Regions from separate parts of the Homo sapiens genome. Here all the other regions are linked to region 1. The links are contacts of gene promoters, found by promoter capture Hi-C in blood cells and fetal thymus (Javierre and others, 2016). All regions are on one chromosome and are shown on one strand. Each heading gives the region's core, a stretch centred on a gene start or on the middle of the fragment in contact. The rest is flanking DNA. Distances are from core to core; before and after follow the strand shown. Region 1 holds the start of PARP8 (poly(ADP-ribose) polymerase family member 8). Region 2 overlaps PARP8 (poly(ADP-ribose) polymerase family member 8). Region 3 has its middle 78 kb from the start of EMB. Region 4 overlaps PARP8 (poly(ADP-ribose) polymerase family member 8).

Region 1 (7,260 bases), core at 1,471-3,970:
GTGTGGCTTCTGTACATATTTATTCCTTTAAGTTCAATTCAATTGCTGAAAGGTTTCAAGAGAGAAAAAAACTTCTTGTAGTCCATGTCTCACCTTAGATGAATTAACCCCTTTGAGCCTGTTTCCTCTTTTGTAAAATGAGAAAAATAACAGCTAGTATATACGGGTTATTGTGAATATTAAATGAGTAACTATATGTAAAGCTTTTAGAACAGTTTCTACCAGTTCTGGATAAATGTTAATGAATTCTGGATAAGTTCTGGATAAATATTAAGTTCTGGATAAATGTTAGTTATTAATACCCACATCACATTATTGAACTTAATGCCGCATGTCCATTACCTTATACTTCCGCAGTTGGGCCTTTTGGCACAGGCAAAAAATTTATATTTTTCACTAATAAATTATATCTGGTGGCTTTGAATCATTATTCTAAACCGGTGGAATTTTTTCAGTAGAGTCTATCATCCAACATGTAGATTATTATCTTCAATTTAGTTTGGGATACCACCTGAGTTCTCCCTCACTGTAAATATTGATTTTATTTATTTAACAAATTGGTGAAGGGCCTCTTATGTGCCACGTTCCTGAATGCATGTGTGTGTATGTTGTATACTCATGAGTGTTTAAGGAGAGATAGAACTGTTTCATCTCAAAGGCGCATATAGTTTTTGATAAGGGAAGTATGTTGAGCACACATAATATAAACATTTAAATATTCGGAGATGGGGCAAGGTAAAGAAAGGATCCTGGATATGGGCTGACTTACTTTGAGCAAAGTGCTCCATAAGGATCTAGCCTGGAAGATCCTTGGAAGGATCTACGTTGGTATAGTTTTTAATTAGAGAAATTTATCTTGCAGAAATACATACTAGATAGGTTTTTATTTTTTAATCTTACTCCTTCAAATGTACAAATATTTATTAAATACATCACACCTTAAGGGCATGAACAGGGTGAGGTTAGCTTTGTTTAACCAAAACAGGGCAGCCCATGAAGCTTAAAAAAAAATCAAATATAGGACAAGTCACAAGAAGGCCTATTTTAAGGAGTGAGTAGTAAACTAAGAGCTCATCCAGACAAAAAAATATTTGGTAGCTTTAAAACTATTTCACATTTATTTGTAGTAAGGGTTCTACTTGGAAGATGCAAGCCTTGTGGCTAGATAACTATAAAATAAATTCTTGTGAGTTAATAGACTTTCAGCCTTTCAGAGAAATTAAAGCACATAATGGAAGAAGAAATACTCATGATTCTCAGTGGTGATGTGGAAGAGAAGAGAGCATTTTTGGCAGCCAAAGGGCCTACACAAAGCAACATATCCAGGAAGGACAAAGGGCTTGAACCTGTCCTACCCTAAACAGGAAGCATTTCAGGAGAGGACTGAGCAGGAGATATAGACTGTTGTGACTGTGGCTTTACTACATCAAAGGCTGCAGTGGATCTCAATAATGCAGAATGTTTCCTTTTGTAACTCATAGTGAATATGACTGGACAAGGAAATTATTTTGTAATTTGTTTCCTGAAAGATAAAGGAGTTAGAACATAGGATCTTTCATTGATTCTACAGAATCTTAAGACTCCTTCAGGGATGGCAGTCATTCCTACCGTGCTGAACATCATGTTGTCACGGTCAGAATCAGAACTAAATTGATTAAGGGTCTGAAACAGTTTGGCAACTCTTGGGCACTTATGCTGATAAGAAAAGTGATGAGACAGGGTAATGAAAAGAGGCTGCAAGAAATGACCATTCGTGCATTCAGCCAACATTTAGGCCACCCTCCTGTATTCCAGGCACTGTACATGGCACTGAGTATGCAAAGCAAAAGGAGTCATGGTCTACTGGCGGGAGCCTTCTCAGTGGAGAAAAGATCAACAAGAAAAGTGCCTGCTGGAGACCTCTCCTAGGGCATAAACCAATATAGAGGTGGGGCAGCTACGTCAGCCTGGGGTGTCCTTAGGCAGAACAGAAAGTGAGAATCAGAGCAGTATCTCATTTCTGAACACCTGGATTGTAGCTTTCCCTTGACTGTCAAAGGAGGTGGTTTTAAAAATCAAGCCAAACAGGTTTCCATCTTTTAGGAAGACCCTGGAACGTGCCAGTTGATTCTGACCATTTCTCATGAACAGAAACACCTAGGAAGGGAGAACTGGTGAGTTTCAAGAGGAGGAAGTCCCTCAAAAGGGGCTGTGTTTCGTAAACGGCGCCCCAAAAGGGCTGAACTACTTCGATCTGGAGGAAAAAGACTCAGGCACTGAGGGAAGGGGAGGGTGCACGTCTGGAGTAATTTTAAGGCCTTTTCCGTGTTATGTGATGTGGCAATAAGGAAAGATTTGTTCGTTTTATTATTTTTTTAATTTTTAAAGATTTTCTTTTCCCCCCTTTTCCCCCTCCCAGCCACTCCGGTTTGGGTTTGCCACAAGACTATAATTCCTTTAGAAAGTGGAGTCGAATTCATAAAAGTGATGGGGGGAGGGGCGCGGAGAGGGAAGGCTGGGAGCCCCAGGGAGTCTTCACGACCGCTCAGCTCCCGGCGCGAGTGGAGGTCGGTGTGGGGAGAAGCGGCTCCCGCCCGGGATGGCTAATACTCTGCGAGCCCCGGCAGCCCGCGGCCGGCGGGGTGACTAGGCGGCGGGCGCGGAGGGTCTGCGGCGGGCGGGCGGCGCTGCAGCAGCCTGGGCACGGCTGCCGCCGCCCGCGGGCGCGAGTGTGCGCGGGTGTGGAAGGCCGGCGTGCGAGCCGTGAGGGGTGTGCGCGCGTGAGCCGGAGCGGGGCTCGCCCCTCGCCGGCGCCCGCCGCCCAGCCGGTGATTGCTCTCTGGCTGTCCCCGGCACCTCGGCCCCCACGGCCGTTGGTCCGGGCGGGTGAGGGAGAAAGTGAGACTTGGTGTCATCACCATCCATTGTCAGAAGGGGAGGAAATTGGAATCCAGCAGCGGCGAGCAGCAGCTGGGCGGTCACATCTGGGAATGCAAAGCCGACCTCCCCCTCCTCCTCCTCCTCCCCCTCCTCCTCCTCCTCTTCTCTCACCCAGGATCACTTCCGAAACCACTTCGCCTTCAGCCCCTGCCTCGGCCAGAGGTTTCATTTTTAACTGAATATTTACGAAAGCTGGAAGCGTGCGAGGGGGGTGGGGTGGGGTGGAAATAGCGGCTGCTTCTTTTCCAGGGATTTATTTAATGGGGATGTGTTCAAGGCAAGAGCGAATTCAGAAGGATATCGACGTCGTGATCCAGAAGTCCAGAGCTGAGAAGGACTGCCTGTTTGCAGGTGAGTTCTTGCTTTTCCAGAACCTCGGACCCAGCGCCCCCTTCCCAGTTTTCTGACCGCGACGTCTGTGGCTGGGGGTGGGGTGGAGGGTTGCACGTCCCCATTCTGGGGTTCATTTGGCAACAGCTGCTGCAACGAGCGCGGGAGCCAAAAGGGGGAGGGGGCGCCAGCCTCTCCCCTTCCCCTCCCCCACCGCCAAGTCTGAGGCAGCCACCAGCTTTGAGGGCAGAGCCCGCGTGGCCGGAGCGGGGGTCTAGGCGAAGGGGCAGTGCGTGGTATTTCCAGCCCCGCGTAGTGCCCGAAGCCTCCAAGCACGCTTCCTGGGTTCCAGCAGCGGCGGCAGAGCGGGGTTGGTTTGCGCAATGGGCTGAGCGGCGGCGGCCGGGAATGGAGCCTGCTGCGCTGCGCTGCGCTTGTAAGCTGCGCCCGGCGCCGAGGACCCCCGGGGGGCAGCGCTCGGCCCATCTCCGGCCCCTTCGGCTCCCTCTAGTCCCCTCCGACTGGCAAAGAGAAGGGATTCCTCGGATTCCCAAGGCACCCAGCGCCCCTGCCTGGGGGTCGCCTTTCGTCCATTTTGCTCCCCCGGGATTTTGCTTTCGCTACCGCGAGCCCGGCTGAGGCTGCTTCCGGCCTCCCCTATCGGGAAATTCCCGCTGTTGCCATGGCACCCGGCACTTGTTGCGGGGGGCGGCCTCCCGCTGCACCCAGTCGGGGGCGCGCCGCATCCCCTCGGACGCGGCGCAGAGGGACCTCGCCGCCCTCTAGCCCTTGCCTTCTGCCCGGCCAGGCCTCCCCTGACACCACCGAATGTGGGGCTCAAGTCCTGATCGGGGTTAAAACAAATCCACTCCAGGGGTAGCTTTTGACGGGACTTTCTGTTTCAGATTTCAGATACTCTGACTCCACCTTTACTTTTACCTACGTTGGCGGCCCCAGAAGGTATTTATGTGTATAGAGTTGCTTCATTTCCTGTTCACACTCTTGTGTTTCCTTTGTTCTTAGCGTGTTCCGTGTTCGGGTATTTTGGTTGCTTGTTTGTTTGATTATTGTGGCTTTTCTTTACCTGCTACCCAAGCCTGACGTCCCTCGGTTTTAAATAGCAGGAGGAGGGGAATCAATGTTTGATTCAGGTGTTTCGAGGACCACGCCACAGGCAATGAGCAGAACTCTTCATGTTGAAACTGTTCTGCTACAGTACTAGATTGCTCTCAGGCGATTTGGGGTTGATACAGGCACGCCGGTGCAAAACTGGAATACTGGATATGAAGTGAAATGTATAAAAGACATAAAATGTCACAAAATAGTTTGATCAGAAGTGTTGATTTTCCTGGTGAGTTGGGGCTGCGTGTTTCCATGTTTTCTGAAGGTTTACATAAACATGCAGCCTGCCAATTCTCTGTACATTTTTTTTTCAATGAGTGGTATTTCGGTTTTCACGTATAGAAATTGGAGACTTATATGTAGCTGGAGTGGATGACTTCTTTCTTTTGGGGGAAGAATGAGAGATGCACATTTCGTTAGTAAATTGTGAACAACTTGAAACAAACCCAAATCCAATTTTGAATTTAGGAAGTAGAGTTAAAATGAAAGGTAGCCATTCAAATACTATGCCTTGCTACCTTCACTTGTTGAGTTAGGATTTTCTTCCTTTTAGCCCTTTAGGGACACAGTAGTTTAAAAGAGCAGTAGCCACATATGAGAAGTACCAGATTTAGCTTAGAGGGAATTCCTTAGACCAGCCCTGCTGTTAGGACTTGACATTCAATATTGTTTGATCACATTCCAAAATATATCTTAGCTAATGGAAACATTTATAAACATATAAATTGCAAAAGAAGCTTTCTTGTGTACATACATTTTTAAAAGCTTGAAATTGATGTGAACTTTTAAAAACACGTAGGATCTGTATTACATTATACATCTCAAAACATTTAAAGTGAATATCATTCCAGTATATGCAATATACCTAAGCCCCAGAATTAGCACATTGATTTACTAGTTGAAAATATAACAGTGAATCACCAAACTTAAGTGTATACTTTTTGGGAGAGAATGAAATTACAGTATTTCTTAATTTACTGTAATGTCATCTTTGTAATTATGAATTAATAATTCAATGAGAGGAGACTTGGTTGATTAAATTAACGCTGGTCCTACACATTATATCTAAAGGATCTTCGTATATGACTAATATCCTCTTGGATTATTTTAACAGTTAAAATATACAAAGTGGCCCATTAAAAACAGAGTTGACTTTTCACTATTGCTGTTTTTCTGGTGAGACATGTGGACAGGAAGGACAGGTGGGCTTTTCAAGTAACTAGCTTTCTGATTTTTAATAAGATACCTCAGTTCTTTTGGCCTCAGTTTACTTATCTGTACAATCAAAGGGTAAATCATATGCTTAATCACTAAGATCTGTTAGATACTGCAGTTAAGATTCTTTATCAGCAAATTATTGGACTCTAGTGTTAACATAGCTAGAGGTGGAAAAGGGAGCAAGGCCAGGTGTTGGGATGAATAATTAAGCGAGATAACATCAGTTTTCACCATAGGAAGAAGTACCATGGTTGCTCTTAAAGTAAGAGATGTTTCCTATTTTATGTAATTTTATTAAAGGATAGTGTTTTCTTTTGTCACTGATTTAAATGTACCTGGCTGTTTCTCAGCCATTTGGCTAAGATCGAGCACAAGTGTACCTGAGCCTTTTATATCTAATCTAATGTAGACCAGCCTGTTAAAAGAGAAAGACAATTGGTTAAACTGCTGATGTGTTGCTTTGTCTTCTCAAAAGCTTGTTCTAAAATACAATATGTAAAAAGTTGTTACAGTGTAGTAACCGTAGATAATCCCTTTATGATTTGTACCTAATGGCGAATACCTTTTATTTTCTGAAAATAACGTATTTGTTTTCATTACCGACATTATAAACCAATATTTATTAATCTATTTCTTATCCTGACATTTCAGTCAGACTCTTAAAATAATCTTGCTGTGTTTTGATTTAATGTGCTTATCAACTTGTAATATTGAATTAATAGTATCATTTTAGGTGAACTAGACTTTATTGAAGGAGGTGGGAGCCTTATGGAGAGAGAGTATATGATTATCTCTATTTGTATTTAACTACCATTTCATCTAACCATTAAGAACATATTTCAAGAATAATTTTAATTCAAGTTGTAGATAAAACTTACTATACCGTTTTCTTTTTGATGCTTTCCAAGAATGAGATACATGGTATTTTAAAGACAAAGATTGATCTTACATGTTACTATTAAAAAAAAATAATAATTTTGTTCTACATTTATACTTTTAATTTTTCTGTGGATAATAAGAAATGCCAAGAGGCGATTGTGTCCATGCTGGCAAGTGGCCTAATAAATTGTCCTTTTATTTGGTGGTCCTCAGAGTGGCAGTTAACATCTTGCTATTCTGCCTTGTGGACTTGAGGTGGAAAGGTTCATGGAATTATATCCTTGCTTTTGGATGTGCAAACTGAGGCTCAGAGAGTTTAAGACACATAGTCACTTTCATCAATTAAATGTTGAAGCTGCCATGTAAACCTGTTCCATCACACTCCTGAGACCTCCTTCTTCTCCATTAGTGTTTTCAAGCTTTTTGAGCATGCAGACACTTTACCATCAAAAAATTATGTAGAGACATAATTGAGAGTTACAGTTTAAAGAAAAACAAGGTGTAATTATTTGGTTATAAGTAGCATTTACATATGCTTGAAAACTTGTGCTATATATACGGTAAGATTAATTTATTCTAGCAATGATCTTGATAATCCCCCTGATTCCCAGACTCCTTGGAATAGCTCCACAGCTATCAGTGGTTCTGCCACAGGTTCAGAGCCTTCCCAGTACTGCCTTCTTATTTGAGAGGTGTGCTAAGAACTATAAAGCAGAGGCTTCAATTGTACACAATTTGGAAGTTTAGGCAAAAGTCATTTCTTCCCTATACTTTGTCATACTTATCTTCTGT
Region 2 (7,260 bases), core at 1,987-4,486, 150 kb after region 1:
GGGAAATCACTTCTTTTTCTAAACAAAAAGAAACCACCTCAGGATCTCATTGCCTCAGTTTACCCGTGCATTTTAAGTGGTGCTCTGGGGGCTGCAAAGACATTCCTCAGGACCATTGCAGGGGACTTGCCTGGAGCAACAGTGTCCTGTGGTCTAAGCAGCTGCTATTCCAGCACCCCAAATACTACTTCAACAGAATAGTTCCATTTTATTTGTTTAGATATTGGGCTCTCATCTAAGATTTTTTTTAAATTACTATTGCAGTATTGGACAATGATTGGTTTATAATTCTGAATCTGCTTCCTTTTTTAGACTACATTGTATACCCTTAGGCTCTTCCTATAGGTGCCTTTCTTAGTCACATGGACTTCCAGTTATTAAAAGACTAATGACTAAAGACTAATGACCGAATTTTTCTCATTTGCCTGAAAGGGGTGTGTGTGGGGAGGGTTGCTCTGCCAGTTGAATTGTAGGTAATGTAATGTCCTTTGGAGGCACCTGATTCTGTAAATTCACAGACCTTTTTATCTTCACTTATCAAATGTCCTAATTTTTCTTGCTTAAACCTAATATTTCTTTGCATTTCCATCCTAAGTATCTTAGTCAACTGCCAAATTGCTTCTTCATTTGTATCATTCAGTCAAAGAAGGCAGATATATGTGTGTAACTTGTTGTCCATAGCATGCATCATATATACTAAGATTCTATTTAGAATCTTTAATTTTAAATCGTTGGGAGTGGGGAAATATATCATTTAGCCCCCCCCCCCCCAAAAAAAAGAAGTCATAGTTGTGTGCTCTTTTTTATTTTTTCTTTCTTTTCTTCCCCCTCGAGAGAGCCTCTTTCTGTCACCCAGGCCAGAGTGCATTGGTGCAATCTCAGTCATTGTAACCTCTGCCTCATGGGTTCAAGCGATTCTCCTGCCTCAGCCTCTCTAGTAGCTGGGATAACAGGTCCATGCCACTGCACCCAGCTAATTTTTGTATTTTTTTGTGGAGACAGGATTTGGCCATCTTGGCCACGCTGGTCTTGAACTCCTGATCTCAAGGGATCCTCCCGCCTCAGCCTCCTGAAGTGCTTGGATTACAGGCATGAGCCACCATGCCCAGCCTCTCTTACATTTTTATTTTTATTTGTTTTTTTGGAGACAAGGTCTCACTGTGTTGTCCGGGCTGGTCTTGAACTCCTGGGCTCAAGTGATCCTCCCACCCCCGCCTCCCAAAATGCTGGGATTACAGGCCTGAGCCACCACACCCAGCCTTTTATTTTTTAAAGTGGATGTTTTAGTCCATGAGATACTTAGAAAAATTAACATATGCAAAGGAATATAAATCCAAATTGTATTATAAATGTTTTTCTTCTTAAAAAGTCTAATGCTAGCTTCTGTAACAGATAAACCATAAAATCACGGGCAGCTTAACATGGTAGCATTTTGTCATTCACACACTCCAATTAGAATGTTTGATGGGCCACTTTCTGTGTGGTGACCGGGGGGACTGGACCCCTTCGATCATGTGGCCCTGCTGTCTTTACTATATGCCATGTAGTAGAGAAACTGAGGAAGACATACCTTTCTTTGCATCAGGTCAGCCCCTTTCCACTGATGATCTGGTGAAAGCCAGTGGTTAAGACCTTATTCAGACAAAAAGGTGGAAATGTGCTTTGCTGAGCAGCTGCTTCCAGGTATTAGCGCTGTGTCCTGGAAGTGAGCAAGGAGTTGGAAACTTTGGTGCATCCCATGTAATTGAGTCACAGTAGTTACACTTTTTTTTGAAGTTAGGCTAGGACATATATTAACAGAAATATTCTACCAATTAAATTTACTACCCATTATTACATTATAATTTACTTAAATATACTAGTAAAAATATTGGTCAAAAATGCATGGACTTTTATAAAACTTCAATTGCATAGTAGGACATAATTTTTAAAGGGTTTTAGTGAGAGCATATCCATCTGTGTCATTCCCCTCCTCCCTACAAGGTCTCAGAAAAGGCTATTTTATCTTCTTTTTTTTTTTTTTTTTTTTTTTTTTTTTTGAGACGGAGTTTTGCTCTTGTCACCCAGGCTGGAGTGCAGTGGCGCAATCTTGGCTCACTGCAACCTCCAGCTCCCGGGTTCAAGCAGTACTCCTGCCTCAGCCACCCGAGTAGCTGGCGCTGCAGGCACCTGCCACCATGTCCAGCTAATTTTTGTATTTTTAGTAGAGACGGGGTTTCACCACATTGGCCAGGCTGGTCTCGAACTCCTGACCTCAGGCAATCCTCCCTCCTTGGCCTCCCAAACAAAGTGCTAGGATTACAGGCGTGAGCCACTGCGCCCAACAAGGCTATTTTATCTTACTGATTCTTCTTTGTCAGTTCTTGTTTGGGTTTTCATTAGAGACCAGATAATGCTGAAAACAATCTGTATCAGGGTTAATGTGCATCTCTAGAGTAGAAGGAATGTGAGGGTGGGAGAGGAAGACAAAAAGGAGGGTTTTATTATGTCCTTATTATGTTTATTGCTTGGAATATAACTTCTTGCATATATCTATATATATGTATGCATGTATTTACATACACACACACAAATGAAATAGTGTGTCAGGAACATTAGATGTTTCCATTCTAATGTTTTCAGAGTGTGTCTTGTGGATATGCATGTCTATGTACTCGGGGCATGTTATGTCTGGTGTCTTGAGCGTTGCTGATTATTTTAGGTCACTGGAAATTCTGGATGCTATGATTGGGTGGGTGTGTTTTGTGAGTACCCACACAACATAGTCAGCTCTGCTGTCATTAGGTCACAATACTCCTCTCTTAGAAGCAGGACAATCAAAAATTGGCCCCCTCTTACTGTGCATTTTTTAAATGCCTGTCTAAAGACTTTCTAGAAATAGCTTTCCCTATAAAGATATATATGCTTCCTTATTAAGTCACTTGTGTTCACACTGTAGATATGTCTGTTCAGGTGAACTCTGACCATTTAGGCAGTATCAGTTTTCTTTATTCAGTGGCCAGAATATATTGTTTTGGGGACTGGCAAGGGGAGCCATGCTATCAAACTGCTATATAGTACTGCCTCTTAGTAGATTGTGCAGAAGAATCATAGGATAACAGGATAACACAGGAATAAAGCCATTGTCTTTAGCCAATCAAAGGTCATTAGTGGACTTGGATAGAGGAGAATAGGAAGAGGCAAGATGTTGTCAGGCAATTAGCTATTCCTGGAGCATGCCAAAGTCTTTTCCTGCACATGGGGCTTCCTTCCCCTGGAACAGCTTCTCGCCAGATGGTCGCATGTCTCCTTCCTGACCCCGTACAGGTCTCTGTTGAGATTCACCACCTTTCTTAGCCACTCTAAAACAATGTCCCTTTCTGCATTATTCTCTAGTGCCTACTTTATTTTTTTATAACATTTAACAGTATCAGAAATTCTATTGAAGCATCTATTTGTTTAACTGATATTTTATTGTGTATCTTCTCCCCTAGACTATCAGCTGCACCAGAGCAGGGACTTGTCTGTCTTGTGCCTTGTCTTACCATAGGGTCTAGAACAATACTGGCATATAATGTGTGCCTTTGAAAAAGAGATATTAAGTTGTGAGTAATGAGAAGCAGCACATGTTTGTTATTTTGAATTGATGGTAAAGTTTGGTCAAATGTGGTCTCAAGTCTTGCATTACACATTTGAGAGATTGGTAGCAGTCCTGATCTTCCTCATTAACTTATGCTACCTTGAGAGGGAGAAACAATGGCAAAGCACTGGATAAAACCTGAAGGGTAGTAACTATCTTATGTGTATATTTCAAGGTGGTAGATCTACTAGTATCCATGTGTAGGTCTGCGTTGGAATCTCCTAGAAAAGTTGTGATTTTCGAGCCATATCCTTCTGTGGTAGATCCTAATGATCCTCAGATGTTGGCCTTCAACCCCAGGGTAAGTTGTTATCATGGCACACCAATCACAAAGTTTTCTTTAACAATAACAACAATATTGAGATTGTAGTCTCATTAGGTTTCCTCTTTCTATCTAAATCTCTATCTCATCAAGCATATCCATGAGTATTTAATTTCATCATATATTTTTGGGGATTCCGACTTACATAACCTCATTTTGATTTTAAAGATCATGGGTAAAGGGACAAGTTTTCCTTTCTTTTCTGCATTTTCACTTCAACCCTCCTTTCCTCTTTCCCTTCTTCCTCCCCAGCTATCTGAAGGTTAGTGAAAGTTTAGTTCATACTGTTAATGGACTGGCCTTTCTTAAGGAAGCAGTTTTATAAATGTTCCTGAAGATAAGGCAGAATCCTTTTGAAATTACAAAACTTTCAAATTGCATAAGAGCTGAAGTTGCCTCAGTTTCTATTACTACTCAGCTTGAAATAATTTTATAGAAACAACTGTATACAATTTTCTTGGAAGAACTTTATTTCTTCATAAATGGCAACAGCGCACATATTTAGATCTTGCTTGAAAATGAATTGTCAGCTATGTGACTGTATGCTATCATTTGTATACTGTCAACCATACTCTTGTTAACAATATTCAACTCAAAATAAAATAAAAGCGGTTGTGAGATTTGAAGTGGGTTTTTGTATTTTAGGATTCTATGTTGACTTTATTCATTATGGCTTAGTGTTTTAGTGGTGAAAGCCTGAATCAGGAGCCCCATAACTTTTTTGTGTTTCTAGATTTTTTCCGCCATGGCTTATAGAAGGATTGGCATTGTTTTCTTTGTTTCTTTTCTCTGACTGAAGTCCTGGAGCCATCTTATTATAGTCTTCCCTTTTATGTACACCAAACAGTCATTTCTTTCAAATTGACCCCAGTGGAAAATTCACATATGGAAATAATATATTTCTCTAGTGATATACAGACTTGCAAGAGCTTATAAGCAAATGCTGTTTTTTAACATCACTTTTTCATTAAACAGAAAAAGAACTATGATCGAGTAATGAAAGCACTGGATAGCATAACTTCTATCAGAGAAATGACACAAGTAAGTATGTCATCTGGTCTTGTACAGTATATTTTTAAAATGTCTGAGAGTTCTAGCTATGTAGTGAAATGTAGACTTCTCTATAATACATATCATTTAAAAATTTGTGCGGTATTAAGATGTTTTAATTAAATCACATCAGTGTACTAGCATGTAACACTGTGACTTCAGGAAAGTAAGTGGATAATTATAAGATAATTATACTCCTAATACTCTGCCCTCAAACTCGGGCAAGAGCTTGGGTACATGTAGGTATGTCGGGATATTTTAAGGCAAAGGTTAAATCTGGTACCATTTTCCTAGACTGTCAATTTTAATTGATGGTAGCAATTTCAAAACATTATTTGAGTATTAAAAACAGAAATGTTCTTTAAAATGGAACTTTTCCATAAATATTTTATATAATGCAAAATCCCAAAACCACTTTGGAAGATGCCAGGCTCCCGGAGAGTATGGGTTTATGTTTTTGGTCATTAAGGGAGGCTTTGGTGGAAATAGTTTGATGAGCAAGGATCGGGGTTTGTTAGGAAAATCTAACACATCCCTGGGCTATAGTCCAGCATTTGGAAAAGCACACACTGTTGAATTATTGAGACCTTTCCACTGCCAAAGACTTGGAGAGAGGTTTAAAACTTATCATTGTAAGTAGAAATTAATAATCTGAGATTGACAACGCACATTATGTGTGCAGCTTGCATGTAGTGGTTTCAAGGATTGCACTGCCTTAGAGACCCTTGCAGGCTTATAATGAGTATTACCCTGGGTCCTTTATTTTCTCTGGGGAGGGAATAGGGGAACCCTCCTGTCCCAGGGCCCACTAAGCTGCTATGCAGCTTTCTCCCCGCCCCCCACCAACCCCCAGAGTTATCGCTACTGCTCTGTAGGAAGACAGTACTCAAAAAGTACATTTTTGCATTTCCATTTTGATTCTTGATTCTTTCGATCATCATTTATTCATGTAGTCAAATATTCGTTCATTCACTCAATAAATAGTGTGTGTCTGGCAAAGAGTAAACAAGAGATCCTTTAATTCACAAATGTTATTATTTGCTTAAAAAATCACCATCCCTTTGGGTTATTTTTCTATGCCAGTACCTTTCTGTATTATCTGAATTCTTTCTCAGACAAGCACTCCTTATTTGTATAGGGAAAGAAAACAATAAAATGTATTTCCACCTAGGAGAAAAAAAGAACATATTGGAATATCTTATACAAAATCATATAAACATTTTTAGTCATGAAAAAGACTTTGGTATAAGGTATACTATACCCTAGACCTTGATTATTTTTGGATTTAAAAATAGCTACAAACTCTGACTCTGGAATCAGCTCTCTGCCAAAAATTGCTTTCTTTATTCTGGGTCATGTGTAAGCTATTTTAATAGAAGGGAACGTAGACGACTGAGCGTCAGCCTAGGAAGTTAAGAAGCCAAAATTGTATAACTGGCTCATCAATGAATGTGACCTGTGACCTTGGGCAAGTTGCTTAATTGCTTGGCGCTTCGCTGTCAAGGTGGAAGTAGTAATGCTGCACCCTGTTTCGGTGTGTACTTCATAGGGAAGCTCTCAGGTTTTATTGTGTCAAATTCTTTAAAACTTTCTGAATAAATACAACATTATACTGTGCTGTTTTCTAGAATGTACTGTCCTATACGTAGCCCTAAATTGTCACGGAGAGATTGCTCTTTGTTCTGTGAAATGGTTGTTGGTTAAATCCCTTTAAATACTTTTTAGAGAAGGCTTCGTCTTAGGTAAATTGTGTCCAATTTTTTAATGTAAAGGTCTATACCTAAGTCTGGACTCTCAGATATGAGCATTAGTAGTGGCCCTCACAAGCTTTGCTTTCATATTGGTTATTGGTTAAAATGGTCATTGTGAAAGAGAAACTTTACAGGACACTTGTAAAGGTGGCAAGACAGATTTATTCAGAGCACTGCAGTGGGGGAGAGAGACTGCAGCATAAACTGAGCTCAACTTCAACTAAGACAAAGGTGATCCAGGTTTTTAAAGGCAGAGGAGAGGAAGCAAAAGGCGCTACAAGTAAGTGAAAAGGCAAGGAAAAGAAGATGGGACTAGAGGAGTTATGTAAAAATGGAAAGTTACAGAAGGGGATAAGTGGAGAATTACCAAAAATGGTTTGGCAAAGTGGGTTGGTACAATATACATTTTGTGGTTTGGGAGCATCACGTTTTCTTGAGCAGAAACTCAACAGGGGGCTGGAGAGTGGTCATCTTTAGGGACATAGGCTAGTGTAAATGGAAGCCAGGCTAAAATCGGG
Region 3 (7,260 bases), core at 3,410-5,909, 150 kb before region 1:
CTTATCAGATGGACAGTTTGCAAATATTTTTTCCCATTCTGTGGGTTGCTCTTCACTTCGCTGATTGTATCCTTTGCTGTGCAGAAGCTTTTTAACTTGATGTGATCTCATTTGTCCATTTTGACTTTGATTGCCTGTGCTTTGGGGTATTACTCAAGAAATTTTGCCCAAACCAACGTCCTAGAGAGTTTCCCCAAAGTTTTCTCATGGGAGTTTCATAGCTTTTAGGTCTTAGATTTAAGTATTTAATCCATTTTTATTTGATTTTTGTATGTGGCAAGAGATAGAGATCTAGCTTCATTCTTCAGCATATTGATATCTAGTGTTCCCAGTATCATTTATTGAAGAGACTGTCTTTTCCTCAATTTATATTCTTGGCACCTTTGTGAAAAATGAGTTCACTATAGGTGTGTGGATTTGTTTCTGGGTTCTCTATTCTGTTCCATTGGTGTATGTATCTGTTTTTATGCCAATACCTTGCTGTTTTGGTTACTATAGCTCTGTAGTATAATTTGAAGTCAGGTAATGTAATTCCTCCAGTTTTATTCTTTTTGCTTAGGATAGCTTTAGCTATTCTGGGTCATTTTTGATTCCATATAAATTTTAGAGTAGTTTTTTTCTATTTCTGTGAAGAATGTCATTGGTATTGTGACATGGATTGCATTGAATCTGTAGATTGCTTTGGGTAGTATGGCCATTTTAGCAATATTAATTTTTCCAACTCATGAACATAAAAAACCTTTCCATTTTTTGATGCCCCCTCTAATTTCTTTCATTAGTGTATTATAGTTTTCATTGCAGAGTTCTTTTATTTCTTTGGTTAATTCCTTGGTATTTAATTTTATGTGTGGCTATTATAAATGGGACAACTTTTTAATTTCTTTTTCAGATTGTTCATGGATGGCATGTAGAAATGCCACTGAATATTGTATGTTGACTTTGCACCCTGTAACTTTACTAAATTTATTCATAAGATTTAAGAGTTTATTAGTGGAGTCTTTTAGGTTTTTCCAGCTATAAGATCACATCATCTGCAAACAAGAATAATTTGACTTCTTCCATTCCAATTTAGATGCCCTTTATTTCTTTCTCTTGTCTGATTGCTCTAGCTAGGACTTCCAGTACCATGTTGAATAAGAGTGGTGAGAGTGGGCATCCTTAATGTGTTCCAGATCTTATAGGAAAGCCTTTCAGTTTTTCTATATTAAATATGATACTAGCTGTGGGTCTGTCACATACAGTTTTTATTATGTTGTGTACGTTCCTCTTATGTCCAGTTTTTTGATGGTTTCTTTTTTATCATGAAGGAATGTTGAACTTTATCTGATACTTTTTCAGCATCAATTGAAATGATCATATAGATTTTATTCTGTATTCTGTTGATACGATGTATCACATTGATTGACTTGCATATTTTGAATCTTCCTTGCATCTCAAGGATAAATCCCACTTGATCATGATGAATGATCTTTTTAATGTATTGTTAAATTTGGTTTGTTAGCATTTTGTTGAGGATTTTTACATGAATATTCATCAGAGATATTAGCCTGTACTTTTCTTTTTTTGATGTGTCTTTGTCTCATTTTGGTATTAGGGTAAAAATGACCTCATAGAATAAGTTTGGAAGTATTCCTTCCTCCTCTTTCTTTTCAGAAAAGTTTGACGAGGATTGGTGTTAGTTTTTCTTTAAATGTTTGGTAGAATTCAGCAGTGAAGTCATTGGGTCCTGGGATTTTCTTTACTGGGAGATATTTTATTACAGCTTTGATCTTGCTATTTGTTATTGGTCTGTTCAGGTTTTAGATTTCTTCTTGGTTCAATTTTGGTAGGTTGTATGTATCTAGGAATTTGTCTATCTCTTCTAGATTTTCCAATTTATTGGCATATAATTGTTCATAATAGCCACTAATGATCCTTTGAATTTTTGCAGATTCAGTTGTAATGTCTCTTTTTTCAATTTCTGGTTTTATTTGTTTGAATGCTCTCCCTTTTTTTCTTAGTCTAGCTAAAGGTTTGCAATTTTGTTTAACTTTATAAAAAACCAACTTTTTGTTACGTTGATCTTTTGTATTGTTTTCACCTTTATTTATTTCTGCTCAGACCTTTATTATTTCTTTTCTTCACTGGTTTTGGACTTGGTTTTCACTTGCTTTTCTAGTTCTTTAAGATACAGCATTAGATTGTTTATTTGAAGTTTTTCATCTTTTTTGATGTAGGCATTTATAGCTATAAACGTCCCTCTTAGCACTGCTTTTGCTATATCCCATAGATATTGGTATGTTGTGTTTCCATTATCATTTGTTTCAAGAAATTTTTCAATTTCCTTCTTAATTTCTTCATTGCCCCACTGGTCACTCAGGAGCATATGTTAAATTTCTGTGTTTGTATAGTTTCAGAAATTCCTCTTGTTATTAATTTCTAGTTTTATTCCATTGTGATCAGAGAAGATGCTTGATATTATTTCAATTTTTAGCATGTTTTAAGGCTTGTTTTGTGACTTAACATATGGTCTGTCCTTGAAAATAATTCATGTGCTGAGGAGAATAATGTGTATTCTGCAGCTCATGGATGAAAAGTTCTGTAACTATCTACTAGATCTATTTGGTCTATAATACAGATTAACTCTGATATTTCTTTGTTGATTATCTGTCTGGGAGATCTGTCCAATGCTGAAAGTGGGGTGTTGAAGTCTCCAGCTTTTATTATACTGGGACCTATCTCTCTCTCTCTCTCTTTAGGTTTAACAATATTTCCTTTATATATCTGGGTGCTCCAGTGTTGGGTGCATATATATTTACAATTGTTATATCATCTTGTTGAATTGACCCCTTTTTCATGATATAGTGACCTTCTTTTTCTCTTCTTATAGTTTTTGTCTATAGTTGTTGATATAAGTACAGCTACTCCTGTTCTTTTATGGTTTTCGTTGGCATGGAATATCTTTTACCATTTTTTAATTTTGAGTCTATGTGTATCTTTAAAGGTAAAGTGTGTTTCTTGTAGACAACAGATCATTGGCTATTGTCTATTGATTGTATAATTTAGTCCATTTACATTCAATTTTATTAATGATAAGTGAGGACTTACTCCTTCCATTTTGTTATTTATTTTCTGTGTCTTTTTGTGTGTGTGTGGTCTTCTCTTCCTTCTTTCTTTCCTTTCTCTCTTCCTTTAGTAAAGGTGATTTTCTCTGGTGATATGATTTAGTTTATTGCTTTTCCTTTTCTGGTATCCATTGTATATTGTTTTGTTTGAGGTTACCATGAGGCTAGCAAATACTATCTTATAAACGCTTATTTTAACCTGATAACAATTTAACACTGCTTGGATAAACAAACAAGCAAAAAGAAAACTAACAAAAACTCTCCACTTTATTTTGTTGTTTTATTTATCATATAGTACTTCCTATGTCTTTTTTTTTTTTTTTTTTTTTTTTGAGATGGAGTTTTACTTTTGTTGCCCAGGCTGGAGTGCAATGGTGCCATCACGGCTCACTGCAACCTCCACCTCCTGGGTTCAAGTGATTCTCCTGCCTCAGCCTCCTGAGTAGCTGGGATTACAGGCATGCACCACCACTAGTTTTGTATTTTTACTAGAGACAGGGTTTCCCCATGTTGGTCAGGCTGGTCTTGAACTCCTGACCTCAGGTGATCCACCCGCCTCAGCCTCCCAAAGTGCTCCTGGCTTGAGCCACCGCGCCCAGCCTGTACTGCTTATGTCTTGAAAAGATGTTGTAGTTACTATTTTTATTGGTTCATCATTTAGTCTTTCTACTTAGGATAAGAGTAGTTTACACACCACAGTTACAGTGTTATGATATTCTATGTACTTTCTATTACCAGTGAGTTTTATACATTCAAGTGATTACTTATTGGTCATTAATGTCCTTTTATTTCTGATTGAAGTAGTCCCCTTTAGCATTTCTTGCAGCACAGGTCTGGTGTTGATGAAATCCCCCAGAAATCCCTCAGCTTTTGTTTGTCTGGGAAAGTCTTTATTTCTCCTTCATGTTTGTAGGAAATTTTCTCCAGATAAGCTATTCTAGGGCAAAAGTTTTTTCCTTCAGCACTTTCAATATGTCATGCCACTCTCTCCTAGACTGAAAGGTTTCCTTGGAAAAGTCTGCTGCCAGACATACTGGAGCTCCATTGTATGTTATTTGTTTATTTTCTGTTACTGCTTTTCGGATCCTTTCTTCATCCTTGATCTTTGGGAGTATGATTATTAAATGCCTTGAAGCAATCTTCTTTGGCTTAAATCTGCTTGGTGTTCCATAACCTTCTTGTACTTGGATATTGTTATCTTTCTCTAGGTTTGGAAAGTTATCTGATATTATCCCTCTGAATAAGCTTTCTACCCCTATCTCTTTCTCTACCTCCTCTTTAAGGCCAGTAACTCTTAGATATGCCCTTTTGAGGATATTTTCTAGATCCCGTAGGTGTGCTTCATAGTTTCTTATGCTTTTATCTTTGTCTCTTCTGTCTATTTTCAAATAACTTTTCTTCAAGCCCACTGATTCTTTCTTCTGCTTGATCAGTTCTGCTATTAAAGAACTCTGATGCATTCTTCAATATACCACTTGTACTTTTCACCTCCAGAATTTCTGCTTGCTTATTTTCAATTGTTTCAATCTCTTAGTTAAATTTATCTGATAGAATTGTGAATTCTGTCTCTGTGTTAACTTGAATTTCTTTGAGTTTCCTCAACACAGCTATTTTGAATTCTCTGCTTGAAAGGTCGCATATCTCTATTTTTCCAGCATCGATCCCTCATGCCTTATTTAGTTCATTTGGTGAGGTCATGTTTTCCTGAATGGTGTTGATGCTAGTAGTTGCTCTTCGGTGTCTGAGCATTGAAGAGTTAGGTATTTATCGTAGTCTTCATTGCCTGGCCTTATTTGTAGCTGTCCTTCTTGGGAAGCCATTCCAGATATTTGAAAGAACATGGGTGTTGTGATCTAAGCTGTGACCTAAGCTTTAAGGGGGCACCCCAAGCCCATTAATGCTGTGGCTCTTGCAGAATGGTAGAAGTACCGCCTTGACAGTCTTGGACAAGATTTGGAAGAATTATCTGAATTACTAGGAAAAGTCTCTTGTTTTCCGTCCTTACTTTCTCTCAAACAGAGTCTTTCTCTCTGTTCTGAGCCACCTAAAGCTGGGCTGGCAAGACGCCCCTGTGGCTACAACCACTACGACTCCACTGGGTCAGACCTGAAGCCAGCACAGCACTGTCTACCCAAAGCCTCCTGTAGCCATTCTCTGGCAACGGCCTATGTTTGTTCAAGGCCCTGGAGCTCTACAAACTGCCAGTGTCAGAGCCAGCCAGGCTCGTGTCCTTCCCTTCAGGGTGGCAAGGTCCCCCAGATCCCAGATGGGTCCAGAGGTGCCATCTGGGAGTCAGGGACTAGATTCAAAAACCTTAGAAGTCTACCTGGTATTCTTTTATACTGTGGCTGAGCTGGCATTTAAACCCACAAGATGCAGTCCTTCCCACTCTTCTCTCCCCTTTCCAAAGGCAGAGGAGCATCACCCCCTAGTGACCACCACCCCCAGGCCAAGAGGAGTTCTGCCAGACTACCACTAATGTTACCAATGTTCCCTGAAGGCTCAAGGGCTCTTAAGTCAGCTTGTGATAAATGCTGCCTGGCCTGGGACTCACCCATCAGGGCAGTGTCCAGGAATGTCATCCAAGAGCCAAGTACTGGAATTGGGGATCTCAAGACCCCACTTGGTGCTCTACCCCTCTGTGGCTGTGCTGGTACCTAAGGTGCAAGACAAAGTCCCCTTTACTTTTCCCTCTGCTTTTCTCAAGCAGCAGTTTTGCCTCATATGCACCACAGCTGGTAATGTACTGAGTCTTACCTGAAGCCAGCAAATTTCAGAGGCTCACCCAAGGCCCTTGACGTAGTGCCTGGGTATTGCTGCTGATTATTCAGGGCCCAAGGACTCCTCTGTTAGCAAGTGATAAATATTTCCAGGGCTGGGTCCTTTCAAAGCAATGAGTTCCCTTCTGGCCTAGGGTGTGTCTAAAAATGTCAGATGGGAGCTAGGGCCTGGAACGGAGGCCTCACTACTCTGACTGGTGCCTTATCCTGCTGTGGCTGAGCTGGTATCCAAGATGCAAAACAAAGTCCTCCCCATTTATCCCTCTCCTCTCCTCAAGCAGAAGGAAGGGTCTCTTTTGAAGCCGTGAGCTGTGCAGCCTGGGGTTAGGGGAGGGGTGATGCCAGCACTCCCTTGGCTGCCCCAGCTGATGTCTCAGTATGTCACGTGCCCCCCAAGTGCACTGTCTCTGGACCTAGTTCAGCACTAGGTCTTGCCTAAGAGTTGCAGTCCTTATGGTCTAGACTGCCTTTCAAGTTTACTTAGAGACATGGAGTGTTGTAACCCTCAGTGGCAAGGTTTGAGGGAACTCAAATTTGGACCACTAAGCTCAGGAATTCCCCTCTGGCTAGGGCTGGTTTAAATGCTCCCTCCATGGGTGGGTGTCAGGTGAGTTTGGTCTGGTTTTTCTTTTTACTCTAATAGGACAGAACTGAGTTCAATGCCTCACAATTACTGTGTTCTCCCTCCCACAGCACCCAGAGATGCTCTCGACAACACACGGCTGCTGGGGTGAAGGGGCAGTGAAGGATAGGGGTGGAGGAGGGGTGGCATTGGTGATTCAAGGCTGTTTTTGCTATCTTTTCAGTGCCTTTTTCAGCAATATGAAGTTAAAACCAGGTACTGTGAGTGCTCACTTTATTTTTGGTTATTATGAAGGTGTTTTTTTCTGTGTAGATAGTTGCTAAGTTGCTGTCCTTGTAGGGGTAGGGGGATGAAGGGTGGAGCCTTCTATATCACCATCTTGACTATGTCTCTCTTTTCTCACAATAATAACCTTCCTTATTGTACTGCTAAATGTATCTCACAAACACCTTTGGACAATGTTTAGATATAGACTTTTTTTGTTTGTTTTTTGGTTTTTGCTGGATACAGAGAAAGTTAGAAAATAGACTCTTAGCTAGAAAGGACTAAGAGAGAAGACTGTTCTGAGAATTTAAAGATCAAAACGAAATAAATCATTAAATGTCTGCCTATTTTTAAGTTACACGATGAAAACAAACTCATTTGACTCTTTCTGTCTCCTTTCTGGTTTGATACACAAGCACATGCTGTCTTAGAAAAAGGAATTGCCTAAATGAATAAAATAAACTTTATTCTTACAGACTCTTAGAGCAAATCCAGTCAACTAAGAGACTCTATCATCATCATTAGAGCA
Region 4 (7,260 bases), core at 1,911-4,410, 130 kb after region 1:
CATGTAAAGATGCCAGTAATTTTTGCTAGAAGATCAGCAGCTAAGAGTGCTGTTCATTTACTGTAGGCAAAAATTGCATTAGTAATGGTAGAAAGGGTATTTATAATAGAGTGAATAAAAAAGTTTTTAATTTTGATGTCATCAGTGACTCAATTCATATTTCATGTGATCTTAAATCACTTTCGTATTCACTATTGCAAAGAGTAAAAGCCTGTAATTTATACATTTTTACATTTAAAAAAATTATCATTTTTTTTTACTTTGCTTTTTATAGCCAAATGGTGCAAAATGCATTCCAGTACGAGACCGTGGCTTCCTGGTGCAGGTATGAGCCAAAACTCTATCCATTGTACAAATATTTTAGTTCTTACGGGGTTTTTAAATCATTTATGAGCTTGTCTTAATTATTTTTCCTTACTGTTTTATTCAGACAATTGAGTTTGCTGAACAGCGGATCCCTGTATTAAATGAATATTGTGTGGTTTGTGATGAGCCACATGTGTTTCAAAATGGCCCTATGCTTAGGGTAAGTTCTTGCTGATAGAATGTCCGTGTTGGTTTAGAATATAGAAATATAGAAAAGATTTGAAATATAAAAATAAGTAAATAAATGCAGTTGAAAGCAAATACTCTTTATTGAGCAAATTATTTACATATAATTTTGACAAAATAGTATTACTTCTAAAGTAGCCTGTGAAAGAGCAGTTAGTTTGATATTAGGAAAATGTTTCTTATTATATTTTTTACATATGTTTATCTAACAGCTATTTATCCATCTACACCTATATCAACGTTAAGCATCTTAAATTGTGGAATTTTGAAGAACCAGTGTTTACAAGGTTATGTGACAAGGATGCTTAGGCAGTGTCCCTTCAAAACTCCACAATTTAAGATGCTGAATATGTGAGAGGAGAGTCTTGATCCTATGCTAGTTAAAAGAGGTACACAGTAGTAGAGAGAGGATCCCAATAAAGATTTCCAAAGATGCTAGCATCCTGACACATTTGGGATATTATCAAAGGAGTATGAAAATAAGAATCAGTGTATACGTGCATTTTGGAGAGAACGATTCAATTTTAAAATGATTTTTTTTGGAATTTTTATTGCTAAAATATAACTTATAAGTCACTACTTAAAGTATACAATTCAGTGGTTTTTCATATATTCACAATATTATATAACCATTACAGCTATTTAATTCCAGAAAATGGAATTTCCATTATCCCCAAAAGAAATATTCTGTTACCAGTCACTCCCAATTTCCGCCTCCTGTCATCCCCTGGCAATTATGAAACTGTTTTCTGTTTCTATGGATTTGGTCATTCTGGATATTTGATATGAATGGAATTGTACAGTATGTGGGCTTTTGTTTCTGACTTCTTTCACTTATTATAATGTTTTCAAGGACCATCCATATAGCATATGTCAGTACTTTTATTTCTTTTTATGGCAGAATAATATACATTTTATGCATATACCACATTTGTTTATCCAGTCATCAGTCGATGGAATTGCTAGAACATATGTTAACTCTGTTTAACTTTTTGAGGAACAGCCAAACCTGTTTCAACAGTGGCTGCATAATTTTACATTTCCACTGGCAATGTATGACAGATACAGTCTCTATACATCTTCCCCACGTATTATTCTCTATTTATTATTATTTTTAATAATTATAGCCATGCTAGTATGTGTGAAGCGGTTTCTATTTTTTTTGTTTTTTTTTTTTTTGAGACAGAGTCTCGCTCTGTCACCCAGGCTGGAGTGCAGTGGCACGATCTCGGCTCACTGCAAGCTCCGCCTTCTGGGTTCATGCCATTCTCCTGCCTCAGCCTCCCTAGTAGCTGGGACTACAGGCACCCGCCACCACGCCCGGCTGATTTTTTGTATTTTTTTAGTAGAGACAGGGTTTCACTGTGTTGGCCAGGATGGTCTCGATCTCCTGACCTTGTGATTCACCAGCCTCGGCCTCCCAAAGTGTTGGAATTACAGGCGTGAACCACCGCGCCTGGCCTGAGCCACCGCACCCGGCCGAAGCAGTTTCTTATTGTGGTTTTCTTATGCACTTCCCTGATGACTGACTAAAAGATACTAAAATATTTTGATTTTCTGCTAAAAAATTTTGAGCATCTTTTCATGTGCTTATTGGCCATTTGCATGTCTTTGGAGAAATGCCTATTTAAATCCTTTTCATATTTTTAAATTGGGTTATTTGTATTCTTATTCATGAGTTGTAAGAGTTCTTTATGTATTCTGAATACTTTATCTTTACCACATATATGATTTGCAATTATTTTCTTCTATTTTGTAGTTTGTCATTTCATTTTTTAAAGGTAATCTTTGACACACACAAGTTTTTAATTTTGATGAAGTCTTATTTATCAATTTTTTCTTTTGTTACTTGTGTTTTTGATGTTGCGTCTAAAAAGTAATTGCCTAATTCAAAGTCACACAGTGCACTTATGTTTCCCTCTAAGAATTTCACGATTTATGTCTTACATTTAAGTCACAATACTTTTTGAGTTAATTTTTGTATATGGTGTTAGGTTGGGGTCCAAAGTCATTCTTTTGCATGTAGATACCCAGTTGTCTCAGCACCATTCTTTGAAAAGACTATTTTTTCTCTACTGAATGATCTTGGCACCCTCGTTGAAAATTATTTGACTATAGATGTTTTGGTTTATTTCTGGACTCTCAAGTCTTTTTCCACTGATCTGCATGTCTGTCCTTAGGCCAGTACCACATTGTCTTGATTAATGTTGCTTTATAGTAAGTTTGAAATCAAGAGGCAGAAATCCTTTGTTTGTGTTTTATAAGATTGCATTGACTGTTTGGGGTCTCTTGCGTTTCTCTATCAGTTCTGTGGTTCATTTGTCCATTTCTGCAAAAAGGCAGTTGGAATTTTGATAGGGTTGCATTGGAATTGTAAATCGGTTTGAAGACTGTTGCCATTGGCTATAGACTGGATGTGTTCCTCCCAGAATTCATACATTGAAATCCTAACTCCCATGTGATGGTGTTAGGAGATGGGTTGTTTGGAAGGCGATTAGGTCATGAGGGTGGTGCCCTCATGAACAGGAATAGTGCCTTTGTAATAGAGCACAAAGAGCTCTCTCACTCCTCTACCATGAAAGGACACAGCAAGAAGATCAATTTGTGGCCTTACTGTCACTCTGGTCTATGAATCAGCAGATGGGCCCTCATCAGGCACTGAATCTCCTGACATCTTTATCTTCCCAGCCTTCAAAACTGTGAGAAATAAATATTTGTTGTTATAAGCCACCCAGCCTATGGTATTCGATTACAGCAGCCGGAATAGACCAAGACATCATCTTAACAATATTAACCTTTCCAATTCATGTACACCAGATCATTTTATTTATTTAGGCTTTTAAAATTTTATTTCAATGCTATTTTGTAGTTTTCAGCATTCAAGTCTTACACTTCCTTGGATAAGTTTGTTTTTAAGCATTTTATTATTTTTGATGTTACTGTAAATTAAGTTGCTTTATTCCATTTTCAGAACGTTCTTTGCTATTATATAGAAATAGAAGTTATTTTTGCATGTTAATCTTTTATACTGCAACATTGCTGAACTTATTTGTTAGCTCTATTAAGTTATTTTTGGATTCTTTGTTTCTCTATATAAAATTATGTCTCTTGCAAATAGAGTTTCACTTTTTCCTTGTTAATCAGGATGCCTTTTATTACTTTTCCTTATCTAATGTGCTTGACTAGAACTTCAATACAAGACTGATTAGAAGTGGCAAGAAAAGAAATTTTTATCTTGTGATTTAGGGGGAAAATGTTCAGCCTTTCACTGTTTGTTGGGGATTTTTCATAGATGCCACTTACCAGGTTGAGAAAAATCCCCTTCTAGTCCTAGTTGTTAGGTGGTTTTATAATCATGAAAGCATTTTTGTTGGTTTTTGTTTTTCTATGTCTCTTGATATTACTATGTTTTTCTTTTATGCTATTAATATGATGTATTACACTGATTTTTTGATATGCACTAACAACTATCTGGGCCTGGAGATTTCTGTTTTAGATTTTTTTTTTTTTTTTTGAAACAGGGGTCTTACTCTGTCACTCATGTTGGAGTGCAGTGGTGCAAACATGGCTCACTGCAACCTCAACCTTCTGGGCTTAAGTGATCCTCCCACCTCAGCCTCCTGAGTAGCTGGGACTACAGGTACATGCCACCATGCCCAGCTAATTTTTAAAATTTTTTGTAGAAATGGGGTGTCACCATGTTGCCAAGGCTGGTCTTGAACTCCTGGGCTCAAGGAATCCTCCTGCCTTAGCCTCTCAAAGTGTTAGGATTACAGGTGTGAGCCATCACACCTGGTGAAAAATTTTTAATTTATGAATTCAATTTCTTTATTAGTTATAGGGCTATCCAAATTATATATATATATATTTTTGAGATGGAGTTTTGCTTTTGTTGCCCTGGCATGATCTCGGCTCACTGCAACCTCTGCCTCCCGGGTTCAAGTGATTCTCCTGCCTCAGCCTCCGAGTAGCTGGGATTACAGGCATGCACCACCACACCCGGCTAATTTTGTGTTTTTATTAGAGACGGGGTTTCTTCGTGTTGGTCAGTCTGGTCTCAAACTCCTGACCTCAGGTGATCCGCCCACCTCGGCCTTCCAAAGTGATGGGATTACAGGCGTGAGCCACCATGCTAGGCCTCAAATTATCTATTTTATTTTGGGTGAAATGTGATAGTTTGTGCTTTTAGAGGAATTGGTCCGTTTTGTCTCAGATGTCAAATTTATGTGAGTAATTTATTAGTATTCTCTTATTATCCTTTTGATGTCTGCAGAGTTTTAGTGATACTCTTTGTTTCATTCCTGATGTTGAACATTTGTATCATCTCTCTGTCAGTCCTGCTACAGGCTTGTGGATTTTAGTTACCTTTTCAAAGAACAGATTCTTCATTTCATTGAATTTCTCTATTTTCTCTTTCAAATTCATTTATTCTTTGTTACCATTATGAAAGTGGGGGTATTGAAGGCTCTGACTATTATTGTTGAATTGTTTTTACCTTCAGTTCTTTCAATATTTGATTCATGTATTTTGGGAAATCTGTTGCTGGATACGTATATGTTTATAAGTGTTTTATCTTCTTGATGTTCTGACTCTTTTTTCATGTTCTTCTTTGTCTGTAATAGCAATTTTTGTCTTCAAGTCTATTTTGTCTGATTAGTGTAACCACTGCAGCTCTCTATTGGTTATTATTTGCATGGAATATCTTTTTTCATGCTTATGTTTTTATCCTATTAATGTCTTTAAAACTAAAGTGAATCTCTTGTTGATAGCAAATTGTTGATCTTGGTTTTAAATCCTTGCTAATCTTTTTACTTAAACATAATTACTAATAAGGAAAGACTTCTGCTATTTTGCAATTCATTTTCTATTTGTATTATGTCTATTTTGTTCCTCTGCTTCTCCCTTACTGCCTTCTTTTGTGTGTTTAATAGGCATTTTCTAGTGTACCATTTTAATTCCCATGTTGTAGCTTTTCAGTTTGTTTTCTTAGTGATTGCTCTAGGGATTACAATTAACATTCTAATTTCTAAAAATCTAGTTTGGATTAATACCAACTTGATTTTTTTTTAATAAGAGACAGATCTTGCTCTGTCCTCTAGACCGGAGTACAGTGGTGCTGATCATAGCTCACTGAAGCCTCCAACTTCTGGGCTTAAGTGATCTTCCTGCTTGCATCACCCTCGCAAGTAACCAGGACTGCAGGCACAAGCCACTATGCCTGGCTAATCTTTAAAAAAGTTTTTTGTAGAGATGGGGTTTCACTATGTTGAGCAGGCTAGTCTTGAAGTCCTGGCCTCAAATGATTCTCCCTTCTCCCGAAGTACTGAGATTATAGGCATGAGCCACTGTACCCAGCCTTAATAATATATAAAAACTTTGCTCCTACATAGTTTCAACTCCACTCCCAGAGTGGAAGTACGTGTAATTGCTGTTATATATAAATATGTAAGTTATATCTTTATATTATGTGCCCATCAACATAAATTTATGATTATTGCTTTACGCAGTTGTTTTCCAAACCAGAAAAAATCAGGAAAAAAAATCAAAGTCAAATGTATCAATGTATTATATCTATGTTTAAAATTTAAAAATATATATATTTGTGTGCAGTCCTTTGTATTTACCTGTATGCATGTTTACCTTTACCCAAGCTCTTTATCTCTTTATGTGGACTATGTAGTGTCCTTTCCATTTTAATCTGAAGAACTCCCTTCATTAATTCCTGTGGGAAATCTCTGCAAATGATGAACTCTGTTGGTTTTTACCTGGGAGTGTTTTAATTTCTCCTTTATTGTTTGAAGGATAGTTATGCTGGGTATAGAATTCATGGTTGGAAATTTCTGTGTGTGATGGAGGAGGATTTGTGCCGTTTTCAGCATTTTGAGTATGTCATCCTGCTGCCTTTGGGTATTTGTGGTTTCCCATGAAAAATGACCTGTTTTCTTGTTGAGGATTCCTTGTTATGTGATGAATTGCTTCTCTCGCTGATTTCGAGATTTCTTCTTTGTCTTTGGTTTTTGGCGTCTGGATTTTGATGTGTCTAAGTGCCTCTTTAAATTTATCCTATTTGGAGTTAATTGGGTTTCTTGGAAGTGTAGATTAATTTTTTTCTAATGAATTTGAGATGTTTTAAGCCATATATATTCAAGTATTCCTCTTGCAATTTTTCTCTCCTCTTTCCTTCTGGAATTTCCATTATCTGTATGTTTGTATGCTTGATGGTACCCCATAGATCTCTTACACTTTGTTCATTTTTTTCATTTTATTATTCTTCCTCTTCCTTAGATTAGTTAATCTCAATGGACCTATCTTCAAGTTCACTGATTCTTTTTTCTGCCTGCTCAAATCTGATTTTTTATTTCAGTAATTGTACTTTTCAACTCCAGAGTTTATTTTTATAAATTCTATAAATTGATACTCTCTGTTGACATTGTCTTTTCTTCATTTATTTAGATATGATATTCTTTAGCTCTTGAACGTTTTAAGTATAGCCAGTTTAAAGTTTGTGTCTAGTAAATTTAACATCTATGCTTTCCTTGGGCCCCTTCCTATTAGTTGCTTTTTACCCTGTGAATAGGTCTTACTTTCTTATTTCTTCGCATGCCTTTTTTATTTTTTTATTGAAAACTGGACATTTTAAATACAATAATGCTGGAACTCTGGGATTTAGATCTCGCCAAACTGTTTTGGCAGTCCTTAGCCTTCATT

The links. Contacts are between HindIII fragments. The CHiCAGO score rates a contact against its expected background, and 5 or more counts as called.
Region 2: a contact is called between a fragment that was not itself captured here and the fragment with the promoter of PARP8 in region 1, in 5 of 17 cell types (neutrophils, M2 macrophages, M0 macrophages and 2 more). The highest score is 10.5, in neutrophils.
Region 3: a contact is called between a fragment that was not itself captured here and the fragment with the promoter of PARP8 in region 1, in 7 of 17 cell types (non-activated CD4 T cells, neutrophils, total CD4 T cells and 4 more). The highest score is 10.2, in non-activated CD4 T cells.
Region 4: a fragment that was not itself captured here is called in contact with the fragment with the promoter of PARP8 in region 1 in 1 of 17 cell types (neutrophils); the score reaches 9.0 in neutrophils.

What each region holds. Positions count from the first base shown.
Region 1 is chr5:50,663,917-50,671,176 of GRCh38, forward strand. It overlaps PARP8 (poly(ADP-ribose) polymerase family member 8), which reads left to right and starts at 2,721. Exons shown (of 26, transcript NM_024615.4): 1 at 2,721-3,270; 2 at 4,155-4,209. The coding sequence starts at 3,180. RefSeq lists silencers at 2,564-2,713, 2,764-2,823, 3,516-3,845 and enhancers at 2,996-3,908, 3,344-4,543. The HindIII fragment of the contact is 4,109 bases long and covers 998-5,106 here.
Region 2 is chr5:50,817,419-50,824,678 of GRCh38, forward strand. PARP8 (poly(ADP-ribose) polymerase family member 8) reads left to right here. Exons shown (of 26, transcript NM_024615.4): 16 at 3,795-3,920; 17 at 4,917-4,982. Among named protein-coding and RNA genes, the nearest start is that of LINC02106, 150 kb to the right of the region's middle. The HindIII fragment of the contact is 7,160 bases long and covers 1-6,816 here.
Region 3 is chr5:50,515,635-50,522,894 of GRCh38, forward strand. No RefSeq gene overlaps it. Among named protein-coding and RNA genes, the nearest start is that of EMB, 78 kb to the left of the region's middle. The HindIII fragment of the contact is 625 bases long and covers 4,348-4,972 here.
Region 4 is chr5:50,796,708-50,803,967 of GRCh38, forward strand. It overlaps PARP8 (poly(ADP-ribose) polymerase family member 8), which reads left to right. Exons shown (of 26, transcript NM_024615.4): 13 at 275-325; 14 at 431-526. Among named protein-coding and RNA genes, the nearest start is that of PARP8, 130 kb to the left of the region's middle. The HindIII fragment of the contact is 8,543 bases long and covers 1-7,260 here.